Linked DNA regions of Homo sapiens: region 2 is linked to region 1. The links are contacts of gene promoters, found by promoter capture Hi-C in blood cells and fetal thymus (Javierre and others, 2016). All regions are on one chromosome and are shown on one strand. The core of a region is centred on a gene start or on the middle of the fragment in contact, and the rest is flanking DNA. Distances in the headings are between cores, read along the strand shown. Region 1 holds the start of LRRCC1 (leucine rich repeat and coiled-coil centrosomal protein 1). Region 2 has its middle 28 kb from the start of PSKH2.

What was found. Contacts are between HindIII fragments. The CHiCAGO score rates a contact against its expected background, and 5 or more counts as called.
Region 2: a contact is called between a fragment that was not itself captured here and the fragment with the promoter of LRRCC1 in region 1, in 1 of 17 cell types (total B cells). The highest score is 6.2, in total B cells.

Annotation. Positions count from the first base shown.
Region 1 is chr8:85,105,554-85,109,273 of GRCh38, reverse strand. LRRCC1 (leucine rich repeat and coiled-coil centrosomal protein 1) reads right to left here and starts at 2,036. Exons shown (of 19, transcript NM_033402.5): 1 at 1,875-2,036. The coding sequence starts at 1,978. It overlaps LOC105375933 (a long non-coding RNA gene), which reads left to right and starts at 1,412. Exons shown (of 3, transcript XR_929117.3): 1 at 1,412-1,715. RefSeq lists an enhancer at 1,865-1,924. The HindIII fragment of the contact is 5,185 bases long and covers 403-3,720 here.
Region 2 is chr8:86,040,096-86,043,909 of GRCh38, reverse strand. It overlaps the pseudogene RPL32P4. Among named protein-coding and RNA genes, the nearest start is that of PSKH2, 28 kb to the left of the region's middle. The HindIII fragment of the contact is 2,354 bases long and covers 1,351-3,704 here.

The DNA of each region.
Region 1 (3,720 bases), core at 787-3,286:
GTTAATATCCCAGTTTGAATCTGCATTCTATCACGGTTTTGCTGTGTGATTTGAGCAAATGACAACCTGAGCCTCAGTTTTCTTACCTCAATTAATTCTCACAATAACTCTAAGCAGTGGGTATCTTAAGGATACCTAAATTTATGGAAATTAAATAGCTTGCCCAAATTCTTGCAGCTAACAGAGCATATGTAAATCCAGATCTCATGCTGGAGATTATAACTTTATTTTCTTCTTTGTGTGCAATAGCTATTTAATCCACAGTCTATTGCATTTTCAAAAACAAACCATGTTATTGCAATTCCTATTGAAAAAGTCCCTGTCCTCCCTTGTTGAAAGTTAATGGATCTCCCCTAAACAGAACTCATCTCTTCACTCCAATTACTATTTATAACTGAAGCTTCTCCTGAAGATAGTAGTTCCAGGAACACAAACTACAGCATACACAGTTTGGAGTTGCTAGATGGGAGATACACCCAGGAACACACAATGTCACGGGCATCTGCTGTAGGTTGAGTAGCAGCTATCTTACAGCTGTAGGAAACCTAACTCTGACAGCAGGGAAGCATTTGCAAATTTCAAACTAGCAACCTTTAAATGTGACTATCTGGGGCATTTCCCACTTATCCTGCTGTGTCATTTACTTGAGTTCTTATTTAGTGCCAGACCTTATGCTGTTAACACATGCTCTTAATGACAGTCATTTACTTTCTGACACATTTCAGTTTCTCGACATTAATAATGTGCAGATAATGTGAGATAGAAAAAGCATAGTGAAATTAGACGGAAAATGGGTTTGAATCCGAACTTAATTCTTCATGAAGTGTATAAAGATGAACAAATTGTCAATAGATTCTGAGTCTCATTCATCACTTGTAAATGAGAAAAATTACTACCTTGTAGAATTGCTGTGAGGATTACTGATAATGTATATAACATGCACACAACAGATAGCATTCAGTAAATGGCAGCTAGTATTAAATAGAAATGTAAAATGTCCCTTGAACAGCATCTTCTTGGGATCATCTGGCAAAGTTTAAATCAGAATCCAGAACAAGATGCTTAATTATCAGTAGCAGAGTTCGCGTAGAGGACACGCTACAAAGGAACAGCATGTGCAAAGGCACAGAGAAGTCTGCTATGGAATTGCCTGTAGCTCAGTACAGGTAAATAAAGTGTAAGTGGAGAAATGTTACGGGTCGAGACTAAAGAGCCTGAAATGCAGGTGGAGACCTGCTTTACAGTATTACAGAACCAAGTGCCTCATATGCTTTGCACAAGTCAGGGCTTCAAGAGAGAGGGAAACGATGAACTAAATATAGTAAGTTTAGTACTTTCAAAAAGTATATGAATATATGTATTGCAATGTTCTGTAACGGACAAATGATTTCGAATGCAGACAAGGAGAACTGAGGCAAAACTAACAGGCAGCAGCGACTGCCCGCTCATAGCTGCCAGAGATACTATCCTGCAGGTTTTTTTCAGAGGTAAGAACAGGAAAGACGAGAGAACACGAGAAAACCAGCAATTAAACGGCAAGCAAAGGAATAACCACCAGTAAGTAAGGAAAACCAGCAGAAGGAAAGAGTGGTCAGAAGCTGGTGGAGGACAAGGTCCTGGGGCAGTTTCTAGGCTAAGCAGAGTCGTGTGAAACGCTGGGCAGGAGACACGGGCGGGAAGGCATCCACGGCTCATTCAACCTGGCACTTCGGCAGGTAAGTTTTGGAGGAGCGGGGAGGCCGAAAGCCAGACTGCGTTCACTTATGGTCTTGGTAAAGCAGTGCCGCGCCTCCACTCTGGTGTCGCCGCCAGCCACTCGTGGCCCCGGCTCTGGGGAGTGCGCGGGTCGCTCCTGGCTGCGGAGCGCCCTTTACCTCTGCAAGCCTTTGTCCATGAAGCATACATCCCCGCAGCTGCTGTCGCCGTCTTCGTTTTCCACTTCCGCCTCTGCCGCCACCACCGCCGCCGCCGCCTCCATAGCACTGGCGACGGGGAGCGGGGTCTTAACCGGCACCCAGCGAGGGGTCCGTGAGCTTGGGACAAGCCTCCCGGAAGCGCGGAAGGGCGGCCCGAGGGGGCGGGGCGGGGCGAGGACCCACCCTCCAACCGACAGCCGGGAACTTTCCCGCCTTGACGGTGACGCAAAACTGGAATCCTCGTCCCAACTGTGGGCTTCTTTCGTTTTTACAGCATCTGCGGTGCGACTCTTGAACTTGCTGTAAAGTAAAACTGCTTCCCGGGCGTGTAGGAGCTGGAGAATGAATGGATTTGTCCTGTGTGCTTCTGTATATTTGCCTAGTAGCCGACTGACTTCTGAAGGCGGTTTTCACAGCGGTTTGGCTTTACGTGCCTTTACATAGCCTTACATACGTATAAATTGTTCCTCTGGCCATTGCACCTCCTGTTGATTCATTGAACAATTTGTGGGATGCCTTACTGTATGTCAGTCACTTCCCTGTATGAGGAAGAAAAAGATGAAGCCTATTCTTGTTCCTGGAAACATTCGCAGCCCCATAGAGGAAACAGAATTGCCATACAGTATGACGAATGCTAAGAATAACACAAGGGCATCGAAACCAACTCTAGAGTGATATGGGTAGTGGGTACGTTTTCTAAAAGAAGTGATTGATGACTGAATAGAGTCTTGCTGGGTTAGGGGGAGTTCTGGATGAATGGCATTACAGGTGGGAAAGCAATACCTGTGTGAGGTCAAATAACCCTCCTGGCTAGATTGCTTCCTAAGGCATAGTAATATTTTAAAACGGAGCAAATGGTGCAGTAGTCCATTTGAAGTGGACTATTTCCTTTTGAAATAACTCATATAGACAAAAATAAAAAAGATGTTTTAAAAAATGAGCAAAACCCACATGACATGTAGGACACCATAAAGTGACCAAATATTCAAAATTTTGGAGTCTCAGAAGGCAAAGAGAAAACAATAGAGTTGGAAAAATGGTTCAACAAAATACTATATGAAAACTTCCCAAGTCTAGCAAGAGATTTAGACACCCAGGCACAGGAGGCCAAAGGTTCCCAAACAGATACAATGCAAAAAGGTTTTCTTTTAAAAAAAATTTCATCTCACTTTTTATTTTAGATTCGGGGGTACATGTGCAGGTTTGTTACATAAGTATATTGCACGATGCTGAGGTTGTGGCTTCTAATGATCCTGTAACCCAAATAGTAAATATAGCGCTTGATAGGTAGTTATTCAACTCTTGCCTTCCCCCTTTTGGAGTCCCCAGTGTCTATTGTTCCCATCTTTGTGTTCATGTGTATCCAGTGTTTAGCTGCCACTTGGAAGTGAGAACATATGGTATTTGGTTTTCTGTTTCTGTGTTAATTCACTTAGGATAATGACCTTCAGCTGCATCCATATTGCTGCAAAGGACATGATTTTGTTCTTTTTTATGGCTGCATGTTGGTGTATATGTGCCACATTTTCTTTATCCAGTCTATCATTGATGGGCATCAGGGCTCATTCCATGCCTTTGCTACTGTGCTGCAATAAACATATGAATGCGGGTGTCTTTTTGGTAAAACAATTTATTTTTCTTTGGCTAGATACCTGGTCATGGGATTCCTGGATTGAACGGTAATTCTATTTTTAGTTCTTTGTGAAATCTCCAAACTGCTTTCCACAGTGGCTGCAATTTGCATTCCCACTGATGGTGTGTAAGCATTACTTTTTCTCTGCAACCTCACTAACATCTCATATTT
Region 2 (3,814 bases), core at 1,278-3,777, 930 kb before region 1:
CCAGGCTAGTCTGAAACTCCTGGCCTCAAGTGATCTGCCTGCCTTGGCCTCCAAAAGTGCTGGGATTTCAGGCACGAGCCGCCACACCCAGCCATGTTTCATTTTTCTTATTACCTTTCTTATTACTTTTGTGGAATCACTTTTACTTATTTCCTAATAGAAAAAACAAGTGTCTCCTGAATGATAATGTAAACTTCTTTCATTGCTATGTAATACTCGTTTAGGTTTTGTCTTATATTATTATTTGTTCTGAGCTCTCTTACTTAGTATATTCTCTCTCACCCTTTTTCTGTTTCCTGGAAGCTATGTGATAGTTCATTGTCATCTTTGCCTGCCATATTTTATTTTTCAGTTTTTTATGGTGGTTTTATTGAAACACAAAACATGCACATGAGCTGTCTCTTCATTTTCTTTGCTGCACAACCTGGCATTGTGGTTGGTGACTCTGATGGCCAGCTGGGTGGCCCTTTCCATGTGGCTTTGCGGTTCTGGAAGGAAACATTGTGAGTGATCTCAGCAAAGTAAGATTTGTTGCACATCAGCAGCACTTCCAGCTCCTTGGCGTTGTGGACCAGGAACTTCCGGAAGCCATCAGCAGCATGTGCTTTGTGTTTTTTTGTTGCGCCCATAACCAGTGTTGGGCATCAAGATCTGGCCCTTGAACTTTCTACGAACCATGTTGTCAATATCTCTGGGTTTCCCGTCAGTTACGCTTAATTTTGACATGTTTGTCTAACTGGTGCTAGATGAACTTCTTGGTCCTCTTTTTGATGATCTTGGGCTTCATGAGGGATCTGAGAACGGCCATGATGCCATGGAGAAGATGACTGCCATCTCCATAGGCAGTACCGAGGAAGACAGCTTTGCTTGCCATATTTTAAAAATGTTTGTTTAAAAGATCTACTTCAATGACATATACAGAATGTTAATGACTATGTTTTGAAGGGTTCTATAATGTTTAACATAACCTGTAGAACAGAAATCATGCTCACATGAGTTGTAGTCACCTTTTCATACTATTGTATATTATACCATTGTCTATTAGCTACATATAAATACGTGATGGTGAAAAATGAATAGAATTCTGGAAAGTTAAAATCTTTAGGCTAATGTACACTTTCCATTTAATATGACTAATAATGATTGACTTGTGCTTGGGATTTTTTTAAAACTTTTACTACAGATGCTTTATTTATTTATTTTAAATTTTACTTTTTTATTTTTTGAGATGAGGTCTTACTATAATGGTAGGTTGGTCTTGAACTCTTGGCGTCAAGCAATCCTCCCACTTCAGCCTCCCAAGGTCTTAGGATTACAGATGTGAGCCGCCACAACTGGCCATTAGAAGCTTTACTTTAAAAAGTGATTTTTAACAAGAATTAAATTCACAGAGGGAGGTTCTAAAACCTTAAACATGAGTTAATATGACCTCAATTTCAATCTTGAGACCTAAGACGGTGCATTAGTTTCCTAGGGCTGCTGTAATAAAATACCACAAACCAGGTGGCTTAAAACAACAGAAATTCATTCCCTCACAGTTCTGGAGGACAGAAGTCCAAAATCCAGGTGTCTCCGGGTTTGGTTCCTTCAGGAGGCTCTGAGGGAGAATCTGCTCTGTCCCTCTCTCCCAGCTTCTGGTGGTGGCCAGCAGCCCTTGGCGCTCCATGGCTCATGGCTGCCCACCTGTTTCTGCTGTAGTCTTCACTTGGCTTTCTCCTCTGTGTGTCCCTGTGTCTTTTCCTTTTCTGTCTTTTATAAGGATTCTCATCAATGGATTTAGGGTTCCATCCTATTTCAGGATGATTTCATCTCTAGATCCTTACCTTAATTACATTTGAAAAGACTCATTCCAAATAAGGTCACAGTCTGAGGTTCTGCTTGGATGTATCTTTTAGGGGTCACTGTGCCACCCACTACACATGGAAATCATCATCTGTGGTTTGCAGCTTTGAAGAAAATATGTGGTATCTTCCCTGAGCCCTGGTGTCCTAAACCACTTTCTTTGTCTTTCTCTTGTCTCTGGCCTTGGCTTTATGGCCCTACTTTCAATGTTTTATGAAATGGTGCTTTCAGTATTAATTAGTGGATTTGTTCAGAACAATATTCTATGTAATTGTTCCAATTCCATAAAATTATGTAATTACATTCTATTTCTTGGTATATAAATTCAGGAAAAGAGAGAATCTTATTTGCCTCTGAGAAATAATGAATTGAAAGTACCAGATATTACTGTCTGTTTATTTATTCATTTTCCTGTTTTAAAGGTTTTAAGGTATCTTACGTAAATAGATAAAAATGAGATAAAAGGCCACTTGAATTGAGTGGAAAAGGAATGCAGGAAAAAAAACCCCTGAAAGTAGGAGGGATAGGAAAAACTAAGATAATATTCTCACATAAAAATTAGAAACAAAAATATAAAACATTTAAACCCATAAATTACAGAAGGCGACTTTATATTTGACTTCGTTTTCTGGTAATCCCTTCAAAGAAGAAAGCAGATACATGCTTCAATGTGGTCATAAAATTACAACAAATAATTTTAATTAGTTGCTTGAGGGAAGCACATTCATTCCTGACCCAGACTGAAAAGAATTTCTTGTGGGATCTCCCAGGGAGGATGTACAATGTAATTAACAAGTGCAATGCAATCAGCAACATCCTCGTAGTAAACACAGTGAGCAGTTTCCACAGGTTCTTGTTCATAATGTCCCTCAATGTCGGCCAGTGGGTAATTTGATGAAAACAAGTCCAGGGAGCTCAAAAGAACATGGTCCAGGGATGGAGCTCCATGTTTGTCTGGATTACTGGAGAGAGGGATTTTTAGAAGATTCAAATGAAGGAATAGCTTACTTGCTTTTCAAATAATATTCCAGAAATATTGTTTCTCACCCTGATTTTGGTTTGCACTGCACAGCAGTGATTCCAGGTCCTACACGTGACATTACCTGCAAGGTGGCTGCCTGCAGTGCCAGCTCAGGGCACAGCCATGTGGGTGAGCTGGCAGCCAGTGGGCTGGGCTGACAACCTGTGCCACACACACGCTGGACAGAAGCTGCCTCCCCTCCACATGGAGGTGGGATGAGGGCATATCCTTGGATGCCACCAGGATTTTCTTCAGAAATTGGAGCCTGCTGCAGTGCCCAAAAGAAGGGGCAACAAAGGCCACCAAAACTCCACAGTAAATGGCATGGATTATTTTAATATTTGAAAAACCTTAAAGTGACTGTGGCAAAATACTTACTTCTGATACATAAAATAAATTTCATAAAGTGTCACATGATTTTTATTGTTAGTGTCCCCTCTTGGTGTACCTTCTTCTAAAATAAACTGGCATAAAGAACTGTTTCTAGGGAAATTGAATGAATTAGTGTGTTATGTAGAATTAATATCTTTATGCTAGTTAAAAGTTGGGGAACCTCTGATGAAAATGATGACTTGGATTTAAAAATAGATCTCTAGTTCTTCTTCCCAGCAGATATCCTATAGGAGGGTCATTTATCTATTGAAAGCATACCTAGTTTGTGATAAGAGAGCCTCTTCATCTATATTTTGGCTACTTATGATTTTATTTTTATAGGATTCCTTATCAATTATTAACACATTTTCTTGATAATAAATCATCTAGGCACAGATGGAATCTCCTCCCACTGGTGAAGGCAAATGCTTGTCTCAGCAGAAGAGCAGAAAAGTAAGAGCAAGAAGCTTTTCCTTGGATACTTTATGCCACAGCAAAGCCAGAGAGAAGCCAATTACATTTGCTTCCCATGATGCTGCAAAGGTTTGGGGAGAGTAGGAAAATCTTGGACTTTTATAT